Linked DNA regions of Homo sapiens: all the other regions are linked to region 1. The links are contacts of gene promoters, found by promoter capture Hi-C in blood cells and fetal thymus (Javierre and others, 2016). All regions are on one chromosome and are shown on one strand. The core of a region is centred on a gene start or on the middle of the fragment in contact, and the rest is flanking DNA. Distances in the headings are between cores, read along the strand shown. Region 1 holds the start of EED (embryonic ectoderm development). Region 2 overlaps LOC105369422 (a long non-coding RNA gene). Region 3 overlaps DLG2 (discs large MAGUK scaffold protein 2). Region 4 overlaps DLG2 (discs large MAGUK scaffold protein 2). Region 5 overlaps SYTL2 (synaptotagmin like 2).

The links. Contacts are between HindIII fragments. The CHiCAGO score rates a contact against its expected background, and 5 or more counts as called.
Region 2: a contact is called between a fragment that was not itself captured here and the fragment with the promoter of EED in region 1, in 2 of 17 cell types (non-activated CD4 T cells and naive CD4 T cells). The highest score is 6.3, in non-activated CD4 T cells.
Region 3: a contact is called between a fragment that was not itself captured here and the fragment with the promoter of EED in region 1, in 2 of 17 cell types (non-activated CD4 T cells and naive CD4 T cells). The highest score is 6.2, in non-activated CD4 T cells.
Region 4: a contact is called between a fragment that was not itself captured here and the fragment with the promoter of EED in region 1, in 15 of 17 cell types (non-activated CD4 T cells, activated CD4 T cells, naive CD8 T cells and 12 more). The highest score is 21.8, in non-activated CD4 T cells.
Region 5: a contact is called between a fragment that was not itself captured here and the fragment with the promoter of EED in region 1, in 3 of 17 cell types (activated CD4 T cells, total CD4 T cells and naive CD4 T cells). The highest score is 7.7, in activated CD4 T cells.

Annotation. Positions count from the first base shown.
Region 1 is chr11:86,243,318-86,246,103 of GRCh38, reverse strand. EED (embryonic ectoderm development) reads right to left here and starts at 1,351. Exons shown (of 12, transcript NM_003797.5): 1 at 761-1,351. The coding sequence starts at 874. RefSeq lists enhancers at 839-1,367, 1,368-1,898. The HindIII fragment of the contact is 4,943 bases long and covers 1-2,786 here.
Region 2 is chr11:87,033,666-87,036,451 of GRCh38, reverse strand. All of the region lies in intron 1 of LOC105369422 (a long non-coding RNA gene), which reads left to right. Among named protein-coding and RNA genes, the nearest start is that of TMEM135, 2.9 kb to the left of the region's middle. The HindIII fragment of the contact is 2,330 bases long and covers 292-2,621 here.
Region 3 is chr11:85,585,752-85,588,537 of GRCh38, reverse strand. All of the region lies in intron 3 of DLG2 (discs large MAGUK scaffold protein 2), which reads left to right. Among named protein-coding and RNA genes, the nearest start is that of DLG2, 40 kb to the left of the region's middle. The HindIII fragment of the contact is 4,371 bases long and covers 1-2,786 here.
Region 4 is chr11:85,601,826-85,604,611 of GRCh38, reverse strand. The region is part of intron 2 of DLG2 (discs large MAGUK scaffold protein 2); the gene reads left to right. Among named protein-coding and RNA genes, the nearest start is that of DLG2, 24 kb to the left of the region's middle. The HindIII fragment of the contact is 478 bases long and covers 1,172-1,649 here.
Region 5 is chr11:85,712,261-85,715,046 of GRCh38, reverse strand. It overlaps SYTL2 (synaptotagmin like 2), which reads left to right. Exons shown (of 20, transcript NM_206927.4): 12 at 540-634. Among named protein-coding and RNA genes, the nearest start is that of CCDC89, 27 kb to the right of the region's middle. The HindIII fragment of the contact is 487 bases long and covers 1,038-1,524 here.

The DNA.
Region 1 (2,786 bases), core at 102-2,601:
AAAACATCGCGCACTTGGCGAAGCCAGGAACCCACACTTAAATACATCTGCCTATACCACTGTTGCCCAAAATCTTCCAGGTCGCCACCCCCCTCACCTTTATCTTAAGTAAAAACGTTCAAAGAAGAAATCACCCACTCTTACTTCCTCAAAGGTAGTCACTCCCCACCCCCAAATCAAAAATCGATCCTCTCAATTCGGCTCCTCCTACAGAAAAGGCGACCTTCAGGCGCACCCGGTCTCCGCGGACAGGACGGAGGCGGACACAAAACCCCCTTTAATAAAGTCTCCCAAACTCCGCAAATCGAAGATCACTTTCCATCCTGAAAATTCCACAAGGGTCTTAGAGTGACAACCCTTACGCTCCTTTAACAGGGTCCCTAACTCTGCCCCGTCCTTCCAACTTTCTTAGAAAAGTCTCTAACGTGCCTTTTAAACTACTAGAATCTCAGACCCGCACTCTCCCCTTAAATCCCCCCAAAGGCCAAAACACTCCCCATCACATGCAAACTGATTTCAGGGCAGACTTCTCAGACCCACGCAATCACTAGAACCACTCTCCTTTGCCTAGTTCCTGCTTGCTCTCGGCCCCACATCAAAATCCCCGTAGGCAATTTCAATTTTCTCCCGCACGCCCGCGTTTTCCTGAGTGACACCTCTCCCTCCCCCCACAGCAGCCCGCTCGTCCCCGCGCCCCCCGTTTTAAAAGAATTTAAAACTTTCACTCCGCAGTCTCGTAACTGCCAGAAGCTGCACTTACATTCTCGTCTCCAGAGAGGTCTGGATTGCTGTTCTCGTCACTGCTCAGCTTCTGCTTCTTGGCCGCAGGCATGTCTGTTCCCGCCGGCGCAGTCGACACTTCCCTCTCGGACATATTCCTCCGCCTCCCTCCAGGTTCCTGCCGCCTGGGGCGGGGCCTCCGCCACACCGCCGTCAAGCAAGCCCGGCCCGAGCTTGCCGCAAAGTTGCCGCTGCCGCCGCCACCTCCACCGCCCCCCCCACTGTCGCAAATCGCGCCCAGCCGCCGAGGCGGGCGTGCGTGCGACCCCGCCACACTGCTGAAAAAGGGGCGCGCGCGCGCGCCCTCCCGCGCGGCTTCCTGGCTCCTTCCCTTCCCCAACTCCCGTCTTGCCCTTTTCCCGCCGCCCTCCCGGCAGTCTACACGATGTAAGGTCCGTTGGATTAAGAGGGCAGTATTAAGTATGTCTCCCTTCCCACCACCGCCTCGAGAAGAGGCGAAACTCAAAGGGATGCTCCCTCACCCCCTTCCTCCTTCCAAAGACGTTTCAGCCGCAATTGGCCCGTTCCTTCGATCTCCGACCCGCTGCTAGGGAGCGAAAGTCTGTGGAATGGGCTACACCACCAATGTCCCAGGAAACGGGGGAAGATACAAGACGTCACCTCTTGCTTTAGCTGTGCATGCCACGTTTCCTTAATCTTGAACTTGGAGGACAGCGCTTCCTGACTATTCACGGAACTATTCATAACCTAATTCTTCCTTGAAGATAGAAATGCAAAAACAGTAACCTGCTTCCCCCTGGCTTCCCCCATCTGGCGAATGGAAAGTACCCGTCAGGGGATGCGCAGGCGCCGTGGCGTACTCTTGCGCTGGGTTCGTCGAAACCCGCCTCCTCCAAGCCCCTCCTCTGTTTGAATTCTCGTTTGCTGAACCAGGTAGTTTTCTACCCGGTTTCCGAATCCCAGGGTGGATTTCAAAGCGCTACCGAATTATACTCTAGACGCTTCGTAAATTCTTGTCGGATATTTATTCTGTTGACTATTTATTGTAATGAATGATTATCCTTCCAGTTGCTACCAATAGTGGTTAAGACTTAAATAGAAATATCCTAACATTATGAGACTAGACTCCAATGAGTTACAGCCAAAGTGCTCTTTTTAGCTGCTAAAGGATAGGCCCTGAACTACGCCAAGGCCTAAGAATCAGTGCTCATCTCCATTATGAGATTGTGATACTTAACCGACAATGTTTTGCTTGTTTTTGCACATCAGATACAATGAAATTCTAGAAGGCAACACAACTGTTAAACTTCACCAAAATATTTGCCTCTGTTACTATATCTATTCTCTAGCAGGTGCCAGATAACATTGGTGAGCCTTGTGGAATTATTATATGGGTCATGAAACCATAACTGAATGAGCAGCAGGAAAAGGAGAGTGATGACGAAAAATAAAATACGGCATCCGCCACCTTTTTTTTGTTTTTCTTAGAACATGATTGTGACTACTTATCTATTCGGGCTTCTGTAAAAATGTCCTCATCTGTAAAAATGAGGAGGCAGGAAGGGAGAAAGGGACCTACCATTTCTTGGGCACCTGCTTGATGTTGTATATCTTTTCTCTTCTAGACCTCATTACCCACCTAGAGTGCACCATCCATAAAATTCTAGTATACTTGAATTATTTCTGCATGATAACTTTATAACCAGGACATCAGTTTCCTTATCTGCAGATTGCAAGTCACTCTTTCTTTTGTAGATAAAGAGAGAACTCTTGGTTGAGAATGAGAAAAGGAAGTAAAGCAAAGGCAGGTCAGAATGAGAGGTTTCTGCAGTGAAGACTTTGAAATAAAGAAGCCGAAAAAAAATTAAAGTTGAGGTCTCAATGACGGCAGTCATTTGTTCAGTACTTCCAATGTTCCAGGCACTACTAAGCACTCCTCAGTTGGTGAGAAGAGATGAGACTGGAGTAGAGTAAGCTCCTGACAAAGTAAGACGTGCTTTGGCATGACATTTTCATCAGCAGACAGAAACATCCTTCCCTTTGTT
Region 2 (2,786 bases), core at 207-2,706, 790 kb before region 1:
GTCTCTACTAAAAATACAAAAATTTGCCAGAAATGGTGACACGCTCCTGTAATCGTAGCTACTCAGGGACTGAGGCAGGAGAATCGCTTGAACTCAGGAGGCAGAGGTTGCAGTGGGCCAAGATCACACCACTGTTGCCTTGGCAACAGAGAGAGACTCTATCTCAAAAAAAAAAAAAAAAAAAAAACGGGGGGGCGGGGGCGGGGAGAAAAGGGCATACTTCCTGTTTTTAAAAAAACTTCCCAGAAGATCCATACAAACTACTACAACTTACGTTCCTTGGACAAAGCTTAATCACATGGCCACACTTCATTGCAAGAGAGGATGGTGAATACAATCTTTTTTAATTAATGGGACAAATGCCCAGCTAACATTTGAGGTTTTATTACTGAGCAAAATGGAAAAAACAGATATTAGAGGCAACTAGCAGTGTCTGCCATAGTTCTATGTCTCTGGCTACCCAAATATCCGGGCACACCATTCTTTCTACAGATAGACATACCTTCCCTTTTCCAAGGGAGACAACCTAAAATTCCATGCAGTTGCTGAATCCTAGCCAAAGTCCAGAATATTCCTCAGGACCAGATGCAGATCTCATGATAAAGTTATCATCCGCCTCAACACATCCAATATACAATGGTAGAATAGGAACAAGATAATCACAATTTTTTTCAAATCTCCAATTCAGAAACTAAGAAGATCAAAAACACAGCATAAACTTATCCAAAAAATTACAGAAATAGCAGTGCAGGCTTATTTTTTTTCAATAATCCATTCCTGAATATCTGTGATCCTTTCACAAGAAAATGCTGAATAGGAACTTAGTTTTAAATGGGAAAAAATAAAATGCATTACATATCAACCAAAAAATTCTTAACAAGTATTTAAAACATAGTATCAAATATTAACAAAAAATGATCATGTTAAGATGTACAATACTATACAAATAACATCTTATTCACCAAACAATTAATACGAGCTGGGCACGGTGGCTGATACCTATAATCCCAACACTTTGGGAGGCTGAGCTTGGTGGATCACCTGAGGTCATAAGTTCAAGACCAGCCTGGCCTATGGTGAAACTCCATCTCTACTAAAAATACAAAAAGTAGCCAGACATGGTGGTGGACACCTGTAATCCCAGCTACTCAGGAGGCTGAGGCAGGAGAATCACTTGAACCTGGGAGGCGGAGGTTGCAGTGAGCCGAGATGGTGCCACTACACTCCAGCCTGGGCAACAGAACAAGACTCCGTCTCAAAAAAAAAAAAATTTTTAATATGATTGTTAACTCTCAGTTGCTTCTGAATGTAATAGCACAATATAGTTTTCATGCCTGATAATAAACAATATGTTTACTATGTGGCCCAGCAATTACACATTAATAAATAAGGAAATTTTAAAATTACAATTAAAACCAGGTGGTTTCTTTTAGTTAACTGTTTTTTGTTTGTTTTGAGACATGGTCTCACTCTGCTACCCAGGCTGAAGTGCAGTGGCGCAATCACAGCTCACAGCAGCCTATATCCCCTGGGCTCAGGAGATCCTCCTGCCTCAGCCTCCTGAGTAGCTGGGACCACAGGTACGCCACCACACCTGGCTAATGTTTTTAAATTATTTGTAGGGTCTCCCTGTGTTACCCAGACTGCTCTTGAACTCCTGGGCTCAAGCTGTCCACCCACCTCAGCCTCCCAAACTGCTGGGATTACAGGTGTGCACCAACACACCTGGTCCTAATTAACTGTTAAATGGAGACTTGAAGCATAAAGAAATTTGAGAAAAAGGGGATGGTGCCAAAGGGGACAATGCTGATGAGCTGGGTGGCAAAGGGGTGATTTCAGGGAAACTCCCAAGTTCAAAAGAAAGGATACTCTATCTTTTCTAGTGCTGCTATGGAGATTCCAAAACAGGAAGGCATTGATAAATCCTCAGGGGAGATGATCTGTGCTTTAGGATGCAAAAAAAATTGCAAAATGGAGCAGTATGCAGTTAAACCAGTAGCTTACATTTGTAAATTTCTTTATATGGTATTATAAGATATAGCAGGCTGTTTTTTAAAAGAAAGCCTTCTCTTCATGCCACCATTAAGTTTAAAGATAATGTTAAACATTGCATCTGCATGGGTCATTTATTCTTTTAGGTTGGCTATGACAGTGGCTTGATTGGATACTTTCTGGGGGCTTCATTGTTTCTTCTTTTTCATTAAAAAAACGCAGGGAGGGCTTTAGGGTTCATCAACAAGGTGAAGCAAAGAGTTTCTCCAAAGAAGGTGCACAGTGGATGAAGAAAACTAATCTGGCAATTTATGATGGAATTCAAAGGCTTTGAAGAAACGCCAAGATGAAAATTGTTGCCCCTTTCTTTGTGATGGAAGAATGAAAAAAAAAAAAAAAACACAAAGTTGTTGCTCTTGTAGGATTCTAGTTTTGAAGATGTCAACGAAAAAGAATGGAAGAGCTCTTAAGATCTAATGCAGAGGATTTAACGACACTAATCTAGTTTAGATCTACATGCAGTCATTGTAGAAATAATTATCAGGCACAAGTACAATGGCAAAGTACGGCAAACTCGAAGTATGACACTGTAGTAGCTCTTGATTCCAGCAACAGTCAGTAACCAAGCTTTTCACAAAGCTACATATGATTCTGATTTTCTTTTCTTTTCTTTTCTTTTGAGACGGAGTCTTGCTGTGTCACCCAAGCTGGAGTGCAATGGGACGATCTCGGCTCACTGCAAACTCCGCCTCCTGGGCTCAAGTGATTCTTCTGCCTCACTAGCTGAGATTAGT
Region 3 (2,786 bases), core at 113-2,612, 660 kb after region 1:
AAAACAATCACAACTTCTGGAAGTGAAAGACACGCTTAGAGAAATACAAAATGCACCAGAAAGTTTCAACAATGATGTTGAATGAGTAGGAAAAAGAATGTCAGAGCTTGAAGACAAGGCTTTCGAAGTAACCTAATCCAAAAAAGACAAAGAAAAAAAAATGAACAAAGCCTCCAAGAAATTTGTGATTATGTTAACCAAACCCAAGAATAATTGGTGTTCCTGAGGAAGAAGATAAATCTAAAAGTTTGGGAAACATAATTGAGGAAACCTTGCCTGGCCTCACCAGAGAACTAAACATCCAAATACAAGAAGCTCAAAAAACACCTGGTAAATTCATCACAAAAAGATCATTACCCAGTCACATAGTTGTCATCAGGTTATATAAAGTCAAGAACAAAGGAAAGAATCTCAAGAGCTGTGAGGCGAAAGCATCAGGTAACCTATAAAGGAAAACCTATCAGATTAACAGCAGATTTCTCAGCAGAAACCCTATAAGCCAGAAGTGAATTGGGGTCTATCCTTAGCCTCCTCAAACACAGTATATTTCAGCCAAGAATTTTGTATCCAGCAAAACTGAGCTTCATAAATGAAGGAGAGATAAGGTCATCTTTCAGACAAACAAATGTTGAGTGAATTCATCACTACCAAGTCAGCACCACAAGAAATGCTAAAACGAGATCTAAATCCTGAAACAAAACCTCGAAATACACCAAAATAGAACCTCGTTAAAGTGTAAATCTCACAGGGCCTATTAAACACTAACAAAAAGAAAAAACCCAAGATGTTCAGGCAACAGCTAGCACGATGAATAAAACAGTACCTCACATCTCAGTACTTATGTTGAATGTAAATGACCTAAATGCTCACTTAAAAAATACAGAATGGCAGCATGGATAAAAATCCACCCACCAAGTATCTGCTCTCTTCAAGAGATTCACTTAACGCATAAGAACTCACTTAAGGTAATGGGGTGGAAAAAGATACCCCATGAAAATGGAAACCAAAAGTGAGCAGGAGTAGCTATTCTTATATCAGACAAAACAGACTTTAAAACAACAACAGTTGAAAAAGACAAAGGGAGACATTATGTAATGATAAAAAGATCCATCCAACAAGAAAATATCATAATCCTAAATATATATGCACCCAACACTGGAGCTCCCAAATTTATAAAATAATTATTACTAGACCTAAGAAATGAGATAGATGGCAACACAATAATAGTGGGGGACTTCAATGCTTCACTGACAGCACTAGAGAGGTCATCAAGACAGAAAGTCAACAAGGAAACAATGGATTTAAACTATACCCAGAACAAATGGACTTAACAAATATTTACAGAACATTCTACCCCAAAACCGCAGAATATACATTCTACTCATCAGCACATGGAACATTCTCCAAGATAGACCATAGGATAGGCCACAAAACAAGTCTCAATATTAATTTAAGAAAATCAAAATAATATCAAGTACCCTCTCAGACCACAGTGAAATAAAATTGGAAATTAACTCCAAAAGGAACCCTCAAAACTATACAAATACTTGGAAATTCAATAATCTGCCCCTGAATGATCTTTAGGTCAACAATGAAATCAAGATGGAAATTAAAAAATTCTTTGAACTGAACAATAGTAGTGACACAGCTTGTCAAAACCTCTGGGACACAGCAAAAGCAGTGCTATGAGGAAAGTTCATAGCATTAAATGCTTACATCAAAAAGTCTGAAAGAGCATAAATAGGCAATCTAAAGTCACACCTGAAGGAACTAGAGAAACAAAGAAAAACCAACCCAAACCTAACAGAAAAAATAAGTAACAAAGATCAGAGCAGAACCAAATGAAATCAAAACAAAAAAATACAAAAGAGAAATGAAACAAAACCTGGTTATTTGAAAGATAAACAAAATTGATAGACTGTGAGACTAACCAAGAAAGGAAGAGAGAAGATCCAAATGAGCTCAATTAGAAACGAAATGGGAGCTATTACAACTGATACCACGGAAATACAAAAGATCATTCAAGACTGTTCTGAACACCATTATGTGGACAAACTAGAAAATGTAGAGGAGATGGATAAATTCCAAGAAATATACAACCCTTCTAGATTAAATCAGGAATAAATAGAAACTCTGAACAGACCAATAACAAGCAGCGAAATTGAAAGAGTAATTAAAAAGTTACCAACAAAAAAAAGTCCAGGACCAGATGGCCTCACAGCTGAATTCTATCAGACATTCAAAGAATTGGTACCAGTCCTATTGACAGTATTCCAAAAGATAGAGAAAGACGGAATCCTCCCTAAATCATTCTGGGATTTACCAAAACCCAGAAAGGACATAACAAAAAAAGAAAACTACAGACCAATATCCCTGATGAACATAGATGCAAAAATCCTCCACAAAATACTAGCTAACAATATCTAAGAGCATATCAAATGGATCATACACCATAATCAAGTGGTTTTCATACCAGGATGCAGGGATGGTTTAACATCTGCAAGTCAATAAATGTGATACAGGTTGGGTGTGGAGGCTCACGCCTGTAATCCCAGCACTTTGAGAGGCTGAGAGGGTGGATCATGAGGTCAGGAGTTCAAGATCAGCCTGGCCAACATGGCAAAACCCTGTCACTACAAAAAACATATACAAAAAAATTAGCCGGGCATTGTGGTGCACATCTGTAGTCCCAGCTACTCCAGAGGCTGAGGCAGGAGAATAGCTTGAACCTGGGAGGCAGAGGTTGCAGTGAGCCAAGATCATGCCACTGCACTCCAGCCTGGGTG
Region 4 (2,786 bases), core at 161-2,660, 640 kb after region 1:
GAAGGTAGAGTTTAATGAAGAAAACAGGAGAATTGAGGCAATTTAGATGAAAAATTCTCCACTTGGTTATTTGAACATCAATTAAAATATGAATCTTGACTTGCTTGGATAATTATCTCAGCTTTCCACTTTATTCAATTTATGGAGATTAGGTTAGGGATTTTTAATTTGTATGAAAAGATCCTTGCCATTTGTCTCATTTGTTTAATTTGTCATTTTTAGATTACCTTCAAACTTTCATTAACCAGAAATAAGGATTTGAGTAGAGAGAGTTGAAGAGCATAATAGAATTGACTCCAGGTGATGATCATTCTCAATAATCAAAAGCAGCATAAAAGGGCAGCCACAATTCCAGCCCTAGATGCTGGTGTGTGAAAGCCTAACTTGGAGACTTGATTATATACGACCTTTTAAAAATATTTTAGCATTTTTTATGTGTCAAATTTTTATCCTACAGCGATGAGAGGCATAGTAAGCTCTGCTGGTTTAGAAAACATCTAGCTGTTTTGAATCAATACAGTATTTTCCCTTTATAGTTATTGGATAAATATATGCTAAATGAGTGAGTGAAATTCCCCTTACTTATCTAATTATATTTGTAGATGTGATTGTGGGAATATTGTTAATACATTTTTGAGAATTGCTCTTAATTTTACTTATTTACTTAGAGACAGGGTATTTTACTTATTTATTTAGAGACAGGGTCTCACTCTGTAGCCCAGGCTGGAGTGCAGTAGCAGGATGGTGGCCCACTGAAGCCTCGAACTCCTGGGCTTAAATGATCCTCCCATCTCAGCCTTCTGAGTAGCTGGGAGTGCAGACGTGCACCACCACACCTGGCTAATTTTAAAATTTTGTTGTAGAGAAAGGGTTTTGCTCTGTTGCCCAGGCTGGTCTCGAACTCCCGGTCTCAAGCCATCCTTCCACCTTGGCCACCCAAAGTGCTGGAATTATAGGTGTGAGCCACCGTGCCTGGCCAAGAATTGCCCTTTAAAAGAATAAACGACTAGGGTAATACCTACAACAATGCCACAGAAGCTTAAAAAAAAAGGCTTTAGTTATAATTGTATTAAAAAAAAAAAGAGAGAGAAAAGAAAAAGGTGCTCAGCACTTGTAGGTTTCCCGAAAAATGTCGGCAGACTTTAATGAGGAAATGAAAAAGACTAAAGCTTTGGGCACTAGAGGTAATCACGTGATTAGAGCCCACAGATACATATAAGTAGAGAGAGAGGTATAGTATAATTATTGTATTGTTGATCACCTACAGTGGTAAGTAAAGTAACTATTTATATTTGTAAATAGTGTGTAGGGATGGGTTAGAAAGTGAGCCACCATCATTTTGGGGAAACTGCTGATTGTTTAATTATTGACAAAATGGGGATTAAAATATTTGTCCTTGATTCAGAGTTGTTAAAACATTACGCAAGTAAAGTGTGAAATCATTTTTAAAAATTAAAGTTTATGCAAATATATTAGCACACATTTATATCACCATTCTTTGTTAATATAAATTGGAGTGAGCTCTCTGTTCATCCACATTTATTTCTATATTTCTAATCTTACTAGATAGAAGAGGAGTAGTTACGCAATGTCCTCCTCCATCTCTTATTGCCCAATTGAAATTCTCATTTCCTTCAAGGGGATAAGCTTGAAGTTTGCTATGTTATATAGGAGTATTAGGGAAGGCCTTACTACTAAGATGATATATAAGCAGAGATATGAAAGAAGTGAAGGAGCAAGCTTTATGGATACCTGAGAGAAGAGTGTTATAGGCAGAATCACAAGTATAGAGGCCATGATATAGGAGAGTTCTTGATATATTTGAGAAACAGCATACTGTGGTTGGAGTAGATTGAGCAAGAGGAGAGGTCTAAGAGCTGAAGTCAGAGAGGTGGGCCTTTGCTCTGAGTGGGATGGGGAGACACTGGAGGGTTTGAGTTGAGGAATGACATAATCTAGTTGATGACTTGAAAGGATATTTTTGGCTATTGGGTTTAGAAAAGACTGTAGGCCAGCCTGGGCAACATAGTGAGACCTCATCTCTACAAAAAAATCAGAATTCAAAAAATGATTTGGGAGGATCACTTGAGCCTGGGAGGCTGATGCTGAAATGTGCAGTGATTGCCCCACTACATTCCCATCTGGGTGACAGAGAGAGATCCTGCTTAAAAGAAAACAAAAAACAAAACAAACAAACAAAGACAGAAAGAAAAAAGAAAAAAAAGAGAAAAGACTGTAGGAGGGCAAAGGTGACAGCATGTAAACTAGTAGAACATTGCAGTAATGTAGGGGATAGATGATGATGGGTTGTGCCAGGGTGGTGGCACTGGAGGTAGGGAGAAGTGATGGGATTCTGCATATAATTTGATGTTGGAGCCCACAGGATTTACTGATGGATAGATGTAGAGAATTAGAGAAAAGAATGAATGCTGACTTCAGGAATTTGGGTCTGAATAATTGGAAGGGTGAAAGATGGAGATACATTGGAGGAGAAGCAGACTGAGGGTGGGTGGATAAGATCTGGAGTTCAGTTTTGACAAGTGAAGTTTGAGATGCTTATTAGACATCCAAATGGAAATGTTGAGCATTCAGCTGGATATGAGTCTGGAATTCAGAGTAAAGTTCTGAGCTACAGATATACATTCGGAAGTCTTGAGGGTGCTGGTAATATTTAAAACTACGGAATTAGATAAGATTATCAAGGAAACTGGGTAAGATTATCCAGGGAGTAAGATTAAAGAAGTCTTACCATGTTCAGAGGTATTCTAAACATCTTAAGCCCTCAT
Region 5 (2,786 bases), core at 32-2,531, 530 kb after region 1:
TTATAATTCTGAGTGTAAAACACTATCAGAAAAGTAATCCTCATGCTCACTAAACAAACCTACTCTAAGACACTCAACAACCAGAACAGTTTTATTATTGAGTTGTGTACAAAAATCTTGACTGTCCAGATGAAATAGTTTTTCAGCCTGCAGTGTGTTAGTGATATATCTCAAGGAGATGAACCAATAAAGTACAGACTTTGTGGTCTGAAGCTCTGTTGTGAAAAAATAAGCTAAACCAATTCACACTGACAGTATAATTTGATTCAAGTGCAGCTCCAGTTCAATAAAAACTAATGTTTTTAAAATTAACTTTGTTTTGTATTTGGTTCAACTCCTTGCTAGTTCTCTCTCTATATAATTTATAAAAACTGCATGTTGCTAATCTCATGATCCTGTGCATGTGGACTACTCTGCCTTTAACTTTTTTACAAAAACATGTTTGTTCATAGATTAAATAAAAGTATGTTTTCAACTTAATGTCTAATGTTTTCTGACAATTGTAAGAATAATTTTGAAATGGAAATGCTGCTGTTTAGTTTCCACAGTGCCTACACAACCTGATAATCCATTTTCTCACCCTGACAAACTCAAAAGGATGAGCAAGTCTGTTCCAGCATTTCTCCAAGATGAGGCAAGTTTGTCTTTTGTACCTTCAGAAAAATGGAGACAGAGGGTTGGAATTGCTATGCCAAGGTTGGTGTGTTTGTATTCCACTGTGGCAGAGATCAAAGAGGTCAGAAGGACTGGCCCTTGCCTTTCAAGTCAATAGAAGTAGTGTTGTTCATCCTGGAACAGGGAAAGGCACATCTCATTTGACTCAAACAGTAACTCCTTTTGGTTAGTGAAGTCAAATTGCATAGATTTGGGAATGTGACTTTTGTTTCAAAGTTAGTACAAAATAAGAAATCCAGGAAGGTATATGAACTGATTATTCCTCTGTAGTTTGGAGTAGACTTGATTTGTGAAAACTTAATTTAGGCAGCATGACTAGTTTGAAAGTGTTTGTTAATAAAGTAACAATGACACATCAAGCTTTAAGGAGTATTTACTGGGTGCCAGGCACTTTACATATATCATTTAATCCTTCAACAACCCTAGGAGGCAGGCACCATCATTATCCCCACACATTACAGGTGAGGAAACTGAGACTAAGGGAGATTAACCTCACTCAGCTAGAAGGGGGTTCAACCAGGACTGGAGCACAGATCCAAGTTGCCTGCTGTTAATGACTATACTATATACTGTACGGTCTTAAGAAAGCACATGACTATAATTTACTATTCATTGAGTACCTAATATGTGCCAGGTACCTAATACTCATTCTGTCATCTCACTCTTACTAACTATATGTGGTAAGGACTATTTTCTTCATTTTACAAATGAAGAAAGAGCCGCAGAGAGGTTAAATAACTTTCCCCAAATCCAATAGCTACTGAAGAGTAGATCTAGGACTTTAACTCAGGTCCTTTGACTTAATTAAGATTCCATGTTCTTGCAGTCAGGTAGTTAGGAGCCTAAGCTTTGGAGCCAGATATCCCTAGTCCTGGTTATGATACTAATTTTCTGTGTGATCATGGACACATTCAGTACCTTCTCTGAGTCTGGTTTCCTTGCACCTACCACGTGAGGTTGTGGGGTATCGGTAGGATAATGCAGGGAAAACACATAGCACAGTGCTTGGCATATAATGAGTACCTGGTAAATGTTAGCTGCTACTGTTTGTAGTTTTGGTCTGATTTCTAACGGTGAAATAAAAGGCTTCATTATCAAGAATTCTCTTAGTAGATGGAATGTTGAGGAAAGCTCTGGGCAACACATAAATTATATTCTGTCACTGGCCTGGGCATCCTTTTGTCCATTCTTGGGCCTTTGATGAACTGTATCTGCAAATATTCAGCCCTTGCCTATGGTTAAGAGCACATGTTACAGTTTCCTTTGGAAAGAATCACTCATTCTTTGGAAGTAATTCATTAGCTAGAAGCCAACAGTAGGCATGCCATGCAGTTCAACCATATAATAATATGAGGCCGGGCATGGTAGCTTATGCCTGTAATCCTGGCACTTTGGGAAACTGAGACGGGCAGATCCCTTGAGGCCCAGGAGTTTGAGACCAGCCTGGCCAACATAGCAAAACCCTGTCTCTACTAAAAATTCAAAAAATTAGCCGGGCATGGTGGCTCATGTCTATAATCCCAGCTACTTGAGAGGGTAAGGCAGGGGAATTGCTTGAACCCGGGAGGCAGAGGCTGTAGTGAGCCGAGATTGTGCCACTGCACTCCAGCCTAGGCGATAGAGTGAGACTCTAATTGAAAAAAAAAGTGTGTGTGTGTGTGTGTGTGTGTGTGTGTATATGTATTTTCGAGGCAAATTATATAAGTTCCTGGTTTTTAATTTTTCTCCTTCCTTCAGTTTTAACCTGCTGTCTCATAGCTCCACACAGAAGAGAGTTCAAATCATCTGGGTTTGTGTATCAGAGATGCCAGAATTAAGCTCTATCATTTTGCATGGGGTATAGGGTTGAACTAGGTATTAAAGAAAGTGGAAATGCAATCAGGCCTTGCTCATCTGTTCCCTTTGAGACTTATCATCAGTCACATTTGTTGAGTGCCAGTTACATGTAAAACACCATTCCAGATCAACAAGGCAGAGTCCTATCCTTCCAATAATTCACTAATGATCTGATATACTAGGTAGAATGCAGTAGGCGCTAAAATAGAGGGAAATGACTATCAGCATGTGGGGAGAGAGTGTGACAACAGAGACATTTAAAAGATATGAATTTT